Regions from separate parts of the Homo sapiens genome. Here region 2 is linked to region 1. The links are contacts of gene promoters, found by promoter capture Hi-C in blood cells and fetal thymus (Javierre and others, 2016). All regions are on one chromosome and are shown on one strand. Each heading gives the region's core, a stretch centred on a gene start or on the middle of the fragment in contact. The rest is flanking DNA. Distances are from core to core; before and after follow the strand shown.

What was found. Contacts are between HindIII fragments. The CHiCAGO score rates a contact against its expected background, and 5 or more counts as called.
Region 2: a contact is called between a fragment that was not itself captured here and the fragment with the promoter of ING1 in region 1, in 1 of 17 cell types (neutrophils). The highest score is 7.1, in neutrophils.

The regions. Positions count from the first base shown.
Region 1 is chr13:110,707,401-110,714,949 of GRCh38, reverse strand. It overlaps ING1 (inhibitor of growth family member 1), which reads right to left and starts at 1,250. Exons shown (of 2, transcript NM_198219.3): 1 at 665-1,250. The coding sequence starts at 800. It also overlaps a transcript of CARS2 not described here. RefSeq lists silencers at 1-23, 64-323, 414-703, 864-1,053, 1,064-1,413 and 2 more and enhancers at 2,084-2,133, 2,734-2,823. The HindIII fragment of the contact is 10,550 bases long and covers 1-7,549 here.
Region 2 is chr13:108,269,644-108,277,192 of GRCh38, reverse strand. TNFSF13B (TNF superfamily member 13b) reads right to left here and starts at 7,475. Exons shown (of 6, transcript NM_006573.5): 1 at 6,959-7,475; 2 at 6,769-6,853. The coding sequence starts at 7,297. RefSeq lists a silencer at 6,570-6,649 and enhancers at 6,550-7,058, 7,010-7,439. The HindIII fragment of the contact is 2,403 bases long and covers 2,159-4,561 here.

The DNA of each region.
Region 1 (7,549 bases), core at 1-2,500:
AGAGAAAAGCCCTCGTCCTCCGCAAACTACAACCGGCGGCGTCGCCCCTCGCAGTCGGCCCCTACTCGGTGTCCAGCTCCAAGTGAGGGCCGGAGGGGGCTGGGCGGGGGCGGCCGACCTACCCCGAGCGGAGTACTACCCGGTACTTTATGTAACACTCAGATTCGGGACTGAGTGGGGGGCGACGAAGAAGGGCCAGAGGAACGGCGTTGCCCGGGACCGAGGCACCGGGTCCGCGGGAACCCCGGCCCACAGCCGCCCTCCTCCTGCAGCCCCGTCTCGGCGCCCTATAGCCCCAGGCGCCGGCACATCCCTCCATCTCGCGCCGTAATCTGCACCCCCTCCTAGAGGACGCGGCTTGGACCCGCCGCCCCCTCCCCCGCAGCACCCGCCTCATCACTTCACTACAAAGAGCGCTTTGGTCGCGCAGCCTTGCAGCGAGACCTCTCGCGCCTCCTTCCTCCTCCGTGTCCCGGGCTTTGCACACAAGGACCTTGGCGAATCAAAGGCGCTCCAGACCTTTTGTTCCTGCCCCTGCCGAGGGCCGCCGCTGCGGAGCCGGCCGCTTCCTCCGGTCCACGGCAGGACCGGCCCGGCTCCGCGGCGCGCCCGGACCCGCCGGGAAGGAGGCGGCCGCCCCCGCCCATCCATCACCCGGCCGTACCTTGGTATTTCGCGTCGATCTCCCGCATCAGCGAGACATTTCTCTGCAAGTCGAAAGGCAGGGACTCGATGGAGTCCAGGTAGTCCTCCACATAGTTCACCAGGTGGAGCTGCTCCCCGTTGGCAGGACTCAACATGGTTCACCCCGGAGGTCCCCGGCGACTCGGCGCGGCTTTCCGCTTCCTCCACCCCCCGCCCCCCTCAAAAAATAGCACTGCAAAATGCAAAGCCCTCGCTCTCCCGGCGCCCCCCCGCCGGCTCCTGCTTCGGCCCGGCGGCTACATCTGCCGAGCCCGTCCGCCGCCTCCGGGTCCGCGGGGACCCCAGCGCCTGAGGGCGCGGGCCGCGGTGGCGGTGGCTCCCGGGCGCACGCCCCGGCCGGCGGCGCAGGCCCCCTCTCAGGCGGCGGGGCTGGCGCCGGGGGCCGCGCGTACGAGCGCGCACACACCGGCGGGAGAGGGCCCAGCGCCGCGGCCGCCGCTGCCCACTCGCCCACTGGGCTGGGTAGAAGAGAGGAGCGGAGCGGGCAGCGGGAAGGGGCGCGCTCCGCTGGCCGCCGAGCCGCACTTGTCCAACGTGGAAAACCCAAATACCAGTTTCAAACACTTGGGAAACATTCAGCCCCGCTGCGCAGCGCGCATGCGCCCCGGCCCCCTCCCCCGGCAACGGCCCCGCCCCCCGCCGCATTCACGCCCCTCACCGTCCCAGGCCCTGGGGGCTGCGGGCTCCAGGCCGGCCCTCGCGGGGGCGTGGCCTTGCCTGTCACTTTTTCCAGAGGCGAGGGTCGCGGAGGGGACAGCGTCAGGGCCGCTGGGGTGTGGACGGCGGGCGAGGCGCAAACTTTACTAGGAGTTTTTGGCACTTGGAGGCAGAGCCTGTTGGGCGGCACAGCACGCCCGCTGGGAAACGCAGGGGAGCGGCCTGCTTCGCTGAAAACCCGACCAGGACCTAACGGGCCGCGGGACAGAAACCTCCGAGACCATGGTACACAGCAACTACCGCAACTCGCTCCTCAGCCCCTGACTCTTCGTCCCCGCCCCACAGAGCAGTATAAGTAGGGCCCGAAACAGAACTGGCAACCGCAGTAGCCAATCTACTTGCCAACATCACTTTGACAGCCCAATCACGATGAAGAGGAGGCGGGGAGACCGTGAGTAATGCCCCCCGGACTCTTACTACTAGAAACCCAAGTCCTCCGGGAGGCGGAAGGAAGGGGAGGGCCGGGCACGGGCGGAAGTGGCGGCGCATGCGCACTGGCACCCTCTCGGTGTCCTTTGAGCTGCGGCCGCAGAGTGCGCGGGAGACCTACCCATTCCGCGGCCGGACCACCACTCCCAGCAGCCTAGGCGGCTCCCGCGCCTGCGCCATCCGTCACCGCCCTCCCTTTGTGTCGTCTCCCGGTACTCAGTTTGGAACGGCTTGGAGACAAAGGGGCCTGAGAGGGAAGCTGCTTCCTAGTGCCGAGCCCCAGAAGAGGTGGATAGGCCCGAGGGGCGCCTTCCCTAGGCCTTATCTCTTCCCGCCCTGTGTCATGGACACCGTTCTCGGAGGCCGCTCCCCACACTTGGAAAGGCCGCCCACAGTATGCAGACACCCGGTCGGCCGGCGTCCTGAGGCCATTCAGCTCCCCGGACCGCCCTCCCCCGCGTCGCCCCTCTACCCTCCCAAAGCTCCCGGATTTTGGGCTTTCTGAGAAGCCTGGACGCCACGCGAGCCCGTTGCCTAGGCGACCGGCCCCGCGCGCCGGCCCCCCCCCTTCCGGCCAAAGGGCCCGCCCCTCCTGGGCGTGGCCTCGTGCCTTTGTGCACTTCCCGCCTGGCTCTCTGGTTCCGGGGCGGCCTCGGCTTCGGCCTCCGCCCCGCTGCGGCCGCCGCGGGTCCCCTCCGGGGTGGCCCCGAGAGCTGTGTTCGCCACGCTTGGCTGCCTGCTTTTCTCTGATTTTCTTCCGCCTTGGACCCTGCTCTATTTGCATTGTCTTTTTTTCAGCAAGTCGGAGAACGGTGCCTTGTCAGTTTTCACCTTTCTCACTGGACTTTCTCTTTTCCGGAGAGCCGGGTTGGTGGTGCTGCCTGTGTATTCCACGAACTAAGCCCTGTCCCCAGCCCTTGCAGTGTTTCTGTATCAACTCCACGCCAGCGCGGTTCTCCATTTTTCTTAGCCTCTTAATTAGGACAGGGTCGGATTTCAGCTTTTATCCACCGGGTTTATCCTGTTGCAAAGCAGAGTACACAGTTTTAGACACAAAATAATTGCAGTTGAAATGGATACACATTCTGGTGGTAAGATTTGGAAACGTGGTATTTGATGGAACCCTGTTGTAACATCTAAAACTCTTTGGATTTTTTAAAAACGTATTCTGTGTAATCCAGTAAAAATTTGGATTCGTCCAGTATTTATAGAGTAGATTATTAACCGCAGTGGTGCTCATTCCAGGGCCCTGCCGGGTATTTTGTGCTATGGATGTGAGTACGGCAAAGAGACTGAATTAAGCTGTTTTGTATTTGGAATCGGATTGTTCACGTTGCAACGTTGCTGCAATGATAAATGGATGGATACTCTTTACACTTTGAAGTGGATTTAATCTTCACTTTTAAGCCCCTTCATCTCACCTACACAGCAGGAGAGCTTTGGCTTTGATATTTGGGGAAATGGCTGTTATTTTACTTACAGATCACGCTATTCTAGTCTTGGCCTAGTTAAAAGCAAATGAGTACTTTAGTTTCTACAAGATTTATTGGCCACTACTTGGTCTGCACAAAAGACTATAACACTTGGCCGGACGCGGTGGCTCACGCCTGTAATCCTACCACTTTGGGAGGCCGAGGCGGGCGAATTGCCTGAGATCAGGAGTTCGGGACCAGCTTGGGCAACATGGTGAAACCCTGTCTCTACTAAAAATACAAAAAATTAGCAGGGCATGGTGGCGCGTGCCTGTAGTCCCAGCTATTGGGGAGGCTGAGACAGAATCACTTGAACCTAGGAGGGGAGGTTGCAGTGAGCCGAGATTGTGCCACTGCACTCCAGCCTGGGCGACAGAGCAAGACTATCTCCGGAAAAAAAGAGAAAAAAAGACTACGACAAGATAACATTATGTGGAAACAAACATTATGTCGAATACAGAGTATAGAGGGAGTACAAAGTTGAATAAGGAAAATTACGCCTTTCCCTCAAAAAGCATATAAGTAATTTAAAAGTACAATAGTAAGAAATAGACCGGTTCTTCTATTCCTAGCATTCATTGGCTCTAGAATGAATAGTGTTTATCTGAACTCAAGAATAAAATTGGAAGTAATTTACCCTTTACAAAGATAAGATGGAGTTTAACCTAGGTTTTCTTTTTAAAAAAAAAAATCACAACACAGTACAATCTGAGTAATGATTTTGTTCCTCTAGTTATGTACTCTCTTCACATACACATAAACCAAAAAGGCATCTTAAGCATTCAACAAGGAATATTGACGAGTGTCTACCATGTGCCAACTACTGGTCCGTGCGCTGGGGATACAGTAGTGAAAAGTTTTTTGGAGCTTTACATTCCATAAAACTTTTAGCCCACCCCTTGGGATAAAAAGTCAAAAAAGATTTTATCTTTTTTGGAACAAACTTAGAAGATCAAGCAATAAAACATAATTACCTTTGATAACGAATTTTAAATGTCATTGAAGAAAGGTGCTTAATTTTGAAGATACGTTGAAGAATCTTGTCTCTTTCAGTTTTGTTTCCTGTGGCGTGTTGCAAAAATGGATGTTAAAACTTTTCCGTAGAACAGAAATTTCAAATGGATTAAAAAGAAACATTTAAAATTAAACTTTTTTCTAAAATTATATTTCCAGTCTAACTGAAAATGCTCAAACCTATGAGAGTCAGATATAAGAGATGAACATATAATTCTTTTTCTTTTTTTGAGACGGAGTCTTGCTCTTGTCACCCAGACTGGAGTGCAGTGGCGTGATCTCAGCTCACTGCAACCTCCGCCTCCCGGGTTCAAGCGATTCTCCTGCCTCAGCCTCCTGAGTAGCTGGGATTACGGGTGCCGGACGCCATGCCCAACTAATTTTTGTATTTTTAGTAGAGACGGAGTTTTGTCATGTTGGCCCAGGCTGGTCTCGAACTCCTGACCTCAGGTGATCCGCCTGTCTTGGCCTCCCAAAGTGCTGGGATTACAGGCGTGAACCACCGCGCCTGGCCAAGCATAGAATTGTTTAAGTTTCAAAGTGCTTAAAAAATAAATGCAAACTCATTCATCTTAAACTTGAAAACCCCTAAACCATATGCTACCGTAATCAACTCTACTTCTGATTTACAAGATTTTGCCTTGAAAGAAAATGTAATACTGAGAACTTGATTTTGTTATTGTTGTCATTAAGGACTGAGAAATGGCATTAGTGATATTTTGGAATCATTAACTTTAACACACTTCCTCGTTCTGACCTAGATTGGAGAGGGAGGTGACTTCAATTAAATGGATCCTCTTTTTATGTATATATGGTGTATTAGTCAGGGTTCTCTAGAGGGACAGAACTAATAGGATGGAGATATAGATATATATAATGTATATACATATATATGTTTATTAAGTACTAACTTACATAATCACAAGGTCCCACAATAGACTGTCCGCAAGCTGAGGAGCAAGGAGAGCCAGTCTGAGTCCCAAAACTGAAGAACTTGGAGTCTGATGTTCGAGGGCAGGAAGCACCCAGCACAGGAGAAAGATGTAGGCTGGGAGGTATAGTAATGAAGAGCATTAGCAGTCTATTTTACTTTACCTTAATATTCAACCTGCAGATATTCAATATGCAAAAAGATCACATTTCTAACCATCATTAGGTAATGAGCTATGTTTCTCCTTGTTTTGATGATCCGCAAAAGCCTTAAGAAAACAGAATTAGCTGCCGGGCACGGTGGCTCATGCCTGTAATCCCAGCACTTTCAGAGACCGAGGTGGGCGGATCACCTGGGGTCGGGAGTTCAAGACCAGCCTGACTAACATGGAGAAACCCCATCTGTACTAAAAATACAAAATTAGCTGGGCATGGTGGCACATGCCTGTAATCCCAGCTACTCAGGAGACAAGCAGGAGAATTGCTTGAACCCGGGAGACGTGAGAAAGAGGCAGGAGAATCGCTTGAACCCAGGAGATCACGCCATTGCACTCCAGCCTGGGCAACAAGAGTGAAACTCCATCTCAAAAAAAAAAAAAAGAAAAAAGAGAAAAGAGAATTGGCCAGGTGTGGTGGCTTAGGCCGGTATTCCCACCGCTTTGGGAGGCTGAGGTGGCTGGATCACTTGAGGTCAGGAGTTCCAGAGTCCCAGACCAGCCTGGCCAACATGATGAAACCCCATCTCTACTAAAAATACAAAAATTAGCTGAGCGTGGTGGCACGCACCTGTAATCCCAGCTACTCGGGAGGCTGAGGCAGAAGAATCACTTGAATCTGGGAGGTGGAGGTTGCAGTGAGCCGAGATCGTGCCACTGCACTCCAGCCTGGGTGATAGAGTGAGACTCTGTCTCAAAAATAAATACATAAAAATAAAAATAAAAATGCAAAAATTAGCTGGGCACGGTGGTGTGCACTTGTAATCTCAGCTACTGTGGAGGCTGAAGCAGGAGGATTGCTTGAACCAGGAGGCAGAGGCTGCAGTGAACCCAGATCAGGCCACTGCACTCCAGCCTGGGTGACAGAGCAAGACTGCCTCAAAAAAAAAAAAGAAAACATAATAGAATCACTGCCAGTGAGGGGCTAAAAACATTACATGAATTTTCTGAAGACAGAAGATACTATTGTTAATTTAAAAGTTGTGATGTTCTATGAACAATTCAAATATACCGCATGTCCAGATTCATGTGCAGATTTGATCTTCAGTGTTACTAAGCTGCTTTCAGAATCTCTGCTCCAGTTATTTCCTTGAATTCGTGTGTTCTCACAGATTGCAACTGAGCTTTTTGTTAATTTGCTTTATTTACTGGCACATCTAATATCTGAATCAGCTTTATCAGGTATTTTACTACCCAGATTTCTTCCCACCTGCACAATTAATCCCTTTCGTAAGGGATTAATTCATCAACATTCAACAAGCCCTTTTATTTCTTCTAAATTTTTTTTTTCCAGCCACAGCAAAACAAAACAAACAAAACCCAAGTCCTTTTCTGAATTTAGTGCAGGGCACAGTGAGAAGTTCAAAATAATGTACAATTTAAGATACTCAGGGAGATAAATATACACACAGCACTGGAAAGTTACAAAATAACATAAGGCAGGCAAGAAGTGATAATATTCAGGAGAATTTAGAGTAGTTAGGTAACATGAGTGGTTAGCATTGATGTAGGCTATAGGGTCTCCTAATTCTAACATTTTAACCTTATTAAATTAGACAATAGATTACATTAGACTACAGTTAGCTTGAAACAGAATTGCAGAGTTGGACTCCAGGATATTGAGAAACTACTCTAGGTACACACTTGTTTGTCTCTACTTAAACCTTTGCTTTTTAATAAAACACCAAAGCAAACTAAAAACAACAACAAAAAACCAGAGGAACGTCTCCTGTTTTGAGAACTGGAAAAGCAAAGGGGACTTTTTCTTTTTTTTGAGACATCGTATTGCAAGACACCAATAGAGGCACTTTTTTTTTTTTTCAGGCGGAGTCTCCCTCTGTTGCCCAGGCTGCAGTGCAGTGGTGTGACCTCAGCTCACTGTGAGCTCTGCCTCCTGGGTTCAAGCGATTCTCTTGTCTCAGCCTCCCCAGTAGCTGGGACTACAGATGCACGCCACCACGCCCGGCTAATTTGTGTATTTTTAGTAGAGACGGGGTTTCACCATATTGGTCAGGCTGGTCTCGAACTCCTGACCTCAGGTGATCCATCCGCCTCAGCCTCCCAAAG
Region 2 (7,549 bases), core at 2,111-4,610, 2.4 Mb after region 1:
AACAATAATGCCCAACTAACAGAGTTGTTGAGAAAGTAAATGATATACATTCCCAGAGCCCAACACAGTGTTTGCACATGAAACACGCCTGATAATTGTTAGCTTCGCTGTCCTCTTCTCTGTATATTATGGAGTGCCTACCTCAGATATTTGCAGAAACAGTGGGTGATAAATCTATTTGAAGAGAAACCTTCTGTTTCTCTAACTCTTCAGAAATGGGAATGTCTTTTAAAAAAAAAATATCACCACAACAAAAATGCAGCTGCTCAATGCAGTTCTTTTAAGTAGGAGTTGATCTATAAAAAGAATAAGCATTAAAACTAACATTTTCCATTCATATGGAATTACTAATAAAAACAACACAGGTATAAACATTTTGAATTTATTTTAAAAATCACCTACCCATGTCTGCAATGTTAAAAAAAATAGTCAAAAGTATAAAGAATTATTGAGCTTTCAAGAAAAGATAAAAAGGCTTAATGAACCTGGCCTCTCCATTCAAAATGAAAACGCATTTCTTTCCCTTCCTCACCCTTCACATTCCTGATACTCATTCACCTGCCCTAACCTTTTCACTTTTTCAACATATTTACCATTTTTTTGTATTTTAATTTGCTAATTAACTATATGTACTATCATTTTTCTGTTTCTCTTCAACTCACGATAATGTAAGATTGTGTAAAAGAGACACAATATCACATTTGGCTGTGTTGACTGATTTGTTTCCTAGCTCTTCCGTTTCCCAAAATCTCAAGCTTAACAAGAACAGGTCAAAGATTTGGTTGGAAGGTCAACGTTTTCAATTTTAAATGCTTTTCCAGAAGTTGAACAGAAGCCAGTTCTTGCAACACTGAAGAAAAGTCTCACTATTGAAGCAGGGGGAAAGAAAAAATAACTCTCAGGGAAAGCTCTGGTCAAAGATCGCCTAAGCAGCAGCCAGCTGGTTCTGTTCCACGAAGGAACACACCCTTGCTGGGTAAGAGGCTCAAGTCAGCCTAATTTTGATAAGGGCTGGATGGTCAAGTTCTACATTGCACGCTTCCAACACTCATGTTACAGCCTGGAACTCACAGCTAAGCCAGAAATGCCAACCGGGCAAAGACTGGACATTACAGACTTGTCAAACATCTCATCTTTCCTTGCAAAGGAGTTGGACTTTGGATTTCAAAAAAGAAGACTCAAAAATAGTATTGATATCTTCACTTTTAGCAATTAGAAAGGTTTATCCGATAGAAAACTTAAGGTATAATATTTGGTGTTTATATATGCTACATTCAAAATTTTAATTTAAAAAATGTTAAATACAATGTGATATCCTGATGGATCCTAAAACATAAAATCATTAGTAGAAAAACTCGTGAAATTCAAATTAAGTCTAGAATTTAGCTAATAGTTAAGTCTTAATGTTGGTTTCCTTTTTGTAATGAAATACCATGTTCATATAAGATGTTAGTATTAGGGAAGCTGGATAGGGGTACATGCCAACACACTGTATTCTTTGCAAGCTGTGTGTAATTCTTAAACAATCCCAAGCTCACTTAAAAATGAAGAAAAATATACCTTAAAGTAGATTGACCAAAAATCTCATGATAATTATTTGGAAGGTGAAATACGGACAATTTTTTCTATTCTTGCTTTACATTACTTTGAATTGTCCATATTTTTACTATTATTTTATTATTAAAATTGAGACAATTATAATAAACATTATCAATAAAAATAATTTTGTCTTTCTGTATCCTAAAACACATAAATTTCTAATAGTTATTAATTAACAGGAAAGAAAATACAATGGTTACCTAATTTTAACAATGAACCTTTTTAGGTCAGTGATACCCATTTGAAAGAATTCACTTTCTTGATAGACTCTAAAGACATTCATCTTTAGGTTCTTAAAATTAATAAAATTATAGTTAAGTGATGTTCAAAATGTGGATCTTCATGATTCCATTTGTAAATAAATTTTATTACGTAATATTTTCAAAGCCATATTGTTTTAGTTAATTTTTAAATTGGGAATATCTCCAAACACAGTTACGGGCTTAAAAGTGAATTTTTGGCTAATATGAGCTATTTGGCAATTTTTTAATCCTGGATTTCCCCACATTTCTGTTTATTATACTACAATCAAAAATGATATTATGAAATACATTAAGCTTAATGAGATTTTGGTTTGAAACACAAAGTAATTAAGAAAAACAAAACTAAAGCCAAAGTACTAAATTCTAAAATTAAAACATTAAGTAAAACCACTGTTTACCCATGGGATGCCTGGAAGAGAGTATCATTGGGACATGTTGGCTGATGGTAATTCCCCTCCCTTCTTCTACAGTTTGTGTGAAGTTCCAATAAAAATACTTGGTTCTAAAACATGTAGACAATTAATAAATATGAACATAAATAAACACTTTAAAAGTAAAAAGGACAACTTAAGGTTTTGAGTCTTACTGAAAATAAATCAGAACTTGAATGAAAACAAAAATCAAAGAAAGCTGCATAGAATTTTCTCAATGCCAAAAAATTCCTACTAAAAAACGTCCTTGTGTTACAGACAACTTTTTTGGGAATATAAACATTAATTTTGGAGTATGCTAAATAAAATAAACTTTCCCTCCACCAAAGAATAGTATCTAGAACAACATTCAAATGAATTTCCTAATTTTATTAACAAGGAATAGTAGACATGATGTCATTAAGATTCTTATCTTCAAATCTTCCACCTTGGATTTGTGAAAGTTATGAGTGTGTATACTATGTCCTATTTGAATATATACACATAACACATATGCACACTATGTATGTATATATATGTATATATATATATATTTGTATGTGTATATATTTGTACATATATTTGTATAAATATATGTATTTGTTCATATATGTATTGTTCATATGTATTGTTCATATGTATATGAACAAATACAGTTGATCCTTGAACAACACAGGAATTAGGGTCACTGACCCCATGCAGTCAAAACTTTGTGCTTAACTTTTGACTCCCAAATCTTAATTACTAACAGCCCACTGTTGACCAGAAGCCTTTCTGATAACAAAAACTCAATCAATACGCATTTCATAAATTATATGTATTATGTAGTGTATTCTTACAATAAAATAAGCTAGAGAAAAGAAAATGTTATTTTAAAAAATCATAAGGAAGAGAAAATGCATTTACTATTCATTAAGTGGAAGTGGATCATTATAGAGTTCTTCATTCTTCACATTGAGTAAGCTAAGGGGGAGGAGGGAAAGGAGGCGTTGGTCTTGCTATCTCAAGGGTGGAAAGTGGAAGAAAATCCACATACAAGGGGACCCTCGCGGTTCAAACCTGTGTTGTTCAAGGGTCAACTATAATGTCATGACTCTTCTTTGCTTCCTGGGAGCATTTCCAGCATCACTATCGCATTTTCTATAGGTCTCATGGTGTTATTCAAGGTTTATGATATTGCATTACACAAGAAGAAAAATACACACAAATCATGAGAAATCATTTTTACTGCAATATCCAACTGATTGGAGATACAACTGGCTCATGCAGAGATGATTAGCATCACATGGTGTTTTAAGCAGATACTCACAGCACTTGAGCTCACTGCAGTAGCAACAGGAGGTGGCTATGAAATTATTACAGTAGTACAGTATGTACCACAGTTAATTTTATGCAGTGATGACTTAATACTGCATGTTTATGTTTGTTTCCATTTCTCTAGACTACAAAGGGCGCTATGTACAGTCTGTTTGTATGCATATGTTTTGAGAATTTTTAACTTTTGTGTATATTTTATGATAGTAATAAGAAAATAGACCAGTATCTACATATATTTTATACATTCATGACATGGCTAATTAATCTTAATATTTTCAACATTTCAAAGATACACAGTTCTTCCATGAGTTTTTTCAAATTATCACAAATCTACAGATAATTTTCCAATAGGTTTATTGAAAAAAAAAATCCACCTGTAAGTGTATCCATGCTGTTAAAACTTGTGTTGTTCAAGGCTCAACTGTGTGCAATATATACCTATATGCACACTGTATTAAGGTTTATTAAAAAGTCTAGGGCAAACCATGAAATAATAATAGTAGCTACTTCTGGGCTGTGGAAATCTGGGCAAATTTTTTTTCACTTTGTTAGAATCTACAAATTGCAAATTATTTGGTGAAAGATTCTCATCAGTATACTATTCCTGGATGCCATTAAAACACAAATACATAAAAGTATTAATAGGAGAATTTTGGGAAAATGTGACCCAAGAAGTTATTTCTTTCCTACTCTATTATTCTTTTCTTCTTAAATCTGCTGAAATGAGTCTACATCTTTTTTTTTAATTGTAAAGTTAAAGTTTATTTTTAAAACTAATATTTAGAAACGGGGATATTAGCAGTGAAGGTTAAGGAGATTGAAGGATCCTGACCCTACTAGTTATTGAAGCCTCTTATAATACAAATTACCTTAAAAATATTCTTTAAAGCATATAAATAGAATAATCAATTAAAAAAAAGAGTCTCAAATAGATTCAACTCTTATGAGGAACTTAATAAAACACAGTAAGCTTTTCAACACCAAGGAGTTAAAAAGAACTATTTAATACATTTGGTTGAGATACCAGTTAGAAAGGAAAAAAGAGAGAGGGGGAAGTTAAAGCCAATGTGAGATGATTCATCAAAATAAACAACAGAAGGACTAATGAGTTAAAACAAAACACTCAACTATGAAAAAGTCAAAGTGGCAGGGAGTCAACTACTTAAGAAAACATGAACAAATGTATTTTTAGCTTTAATATTAGGGAAAATTTTTTAAAGATTATCACTTTACTATAGAGAAATGCAAAATGTTCAAGTAAAAAAAGAAGCAAAACTGTTAAAATATTTACATCAAAATTTTGATCAATTATCAATATGTCTAATTAGGAAGAGCTTATCCAAAATTATAAAAACATGGGACAGACAAGTGGAGACAGTTATAAATAAAAATTAGCAAAAGATAAAATTATAAATAATCAAAATATGCAGAAAGTTTATTCATATTAGTAAACAAGCAACACATCAAAATAAATGTGAGATATTGTTTTACAACTACTAAACTAGTCAAAATACACTTTAAAAATAACATGCAAGCAAGAATGTGGAGAACCGGTACACCACATTTTTGATTGCATGTATAACTCATTTTGAAAACAATATGGCAGTCGGAAGCAAGGGTGATGAAGATGTTTCTTCTCCCTAGCTCAGATATTCCACTATATGAATTTTATATTGAATATATAATTTCACAGAAATAAAAGAGTTCTGTGCAAAACTTTTGCATGTTGTATTATAGCAAAGAGAATGGAAATAACCATTTAAAACAATTGTTAGATAAATTAATACAGATATATGAAAAATACTTAGAAATAGGAAAAATCCTTATTGTATAAGTCAAAACAAAAAATATTATAGTATATATTCCGTATTATTTTCAATTATGTAGGAAATATAGACTATAAAATGCAGACGATAAAAATAATTGATGTGTTAAAATAATAAAAATGTGCATGTTTCCTAATTTAAAAATGTTTAAGCCCAGTTATTCCTGATAACTAGTATAAAGATACAATAACCAGATACCAAAAATTATGGTTTTATAAAATAAGAAACAATTTTTTATGAATAAAGCATATAGTCAAAAAATAAGTTTATAGTCAGGGTACCTCATGCGTGTGTGTGTGTGTGTGTGTGTGTGTGTGTGTGTGTGTGTGTGTGATAGAAGGGTCCCTGGTCTATCTCTCACTACATTTCTTATGCAATTCTCTTCAGAAGTGAAAATATACATAAATTATTGCATGTATTCTGTGGACTTCATAGCGTCACTGTGAAGGTTAAACGAAATAGTATGTTTGAAAATGCCTATTCTGGTCTATAGCTGTACGATACGTTCCAGGTGCTCAAAAAATATTCTTTCAATATATTTAATAAAAGGACAATAATATTAAGAATTTGTTATATTATAACTTTAATAAATGTATACAAAGATTCTTTTTTTCACCTTCAAATGAAAGAACTAGAATCGATCATTTTGGTAGGCCCCACCAACTCTGTAAAGTTCCGTGGAATGAGCAGAACATGAAGAAAGTCAGAAATCAGTAAAGGACGATTATAAGAAGACGATAAATGCATGGATCCCCTGGAAAAGCGTACCTTAAAGAGAAGCTTTAAAATCTGTGTGTGTGTCTGTGCGTGTGTGTGTGTGTGTGTGTAAAATAACCTTTTTAACAAATAAACAAAATTAAAGTACAACATACAGGGCCTTTCATTACAACCTTCACCTGGTTTCACAACATGTAATGTACATTCAGAAAACAGATGTCTTTAACTTTCTATGACCCAGGTAGTAAGCAAAGTCTAATTCTAACATGTAATGCTTTTTTTTATTTTTCTGGAGTGATGAATAATGCTTCTCACATGGGAGGGCATTATCTACCTGAGGAAACACATATGGCCCTTTTATCTCCTCTATGCTTAATGCACAGATAAATACTTACACACGCACAGAGAAATGCTTCCAGTCACACGATCTGCTCATTGGAGGAAAAAGCACACCCATGCAGCCTGTTACATTTGCCAGCGCTGGGGCTTTGCTCTAAAGCAATGTCTGCTTTGGATGGCAAATTTCATAGTCTCTATTTAATAGGTTCATAGAGGGGATACTCACCTCCAGCTCCCCCAGACTGGATGTTATTCTCTAATCCCTGACTCCTAAAAGTGTCTGTGCCCAAAACATACCTGTTTCTTCTGGACCCTGAACGGCACGCTTATTTCTGCTGTTCTGACTGGAGTTGCCTTCTCCTGGAGCTGGTGGTTCAAAGATCTATGAACAGAAAAACTTCAAGTTATTAGAAAGACAGCTGAGGCGAGGGAGAGGCAGCAGTGTAGGCAGGATCTTGCCTGCGTCTTGCAGCTGCTGCAAACTCACTTTCAGTCCCGCGGTGACAGCTGGAGCTTCCTCCAGGCCGGCCTTGGGGGCTCCTGCTCCTGCTGGCAGCTTCTCCGCGTGGTGGCCCTGCAGCTCTGCCCGGAGGCTGGCCAGGTCCCCTTGCAGGGCGGCCACCTGGTAGAAAGACACCACCGTGAGGCAGCAAGACAGCAGTGCCAGCAGCAAGGTTGCAGCCAGCAGCTTTCCGTCTTTGGAGGATCGGACAGAGGGGCTTTCCTTCCGTGGGAGGATGGAAACACACTCCTTCAGTTTCATTTCTTCTCTTTTCTTAAGGCAAGAAGTAAGGCGTGACTGCTCCCTTTCTGTGGAGTCATCCATATCACTACTTGAACTTTGAAGGTTGGGGCCTTTAGAATAAGTGACCACAGGGAATGGATCATTTCCTGTTATCTGTGTTTGTTGATGTCCTGCGTGCACTACATGGCAGGGCTTGGCTCACCCCTCAGGAGAGTTATCCTGAATTTTCTCCTTTCTGCCTTTCTGCATCTCTACCCCTACTGTACAGTAGGTTTGCTGGCATTTACCCTCCGATTGGATTGCTCAATCTGTCTTCCTCATTTCACTTTCAGT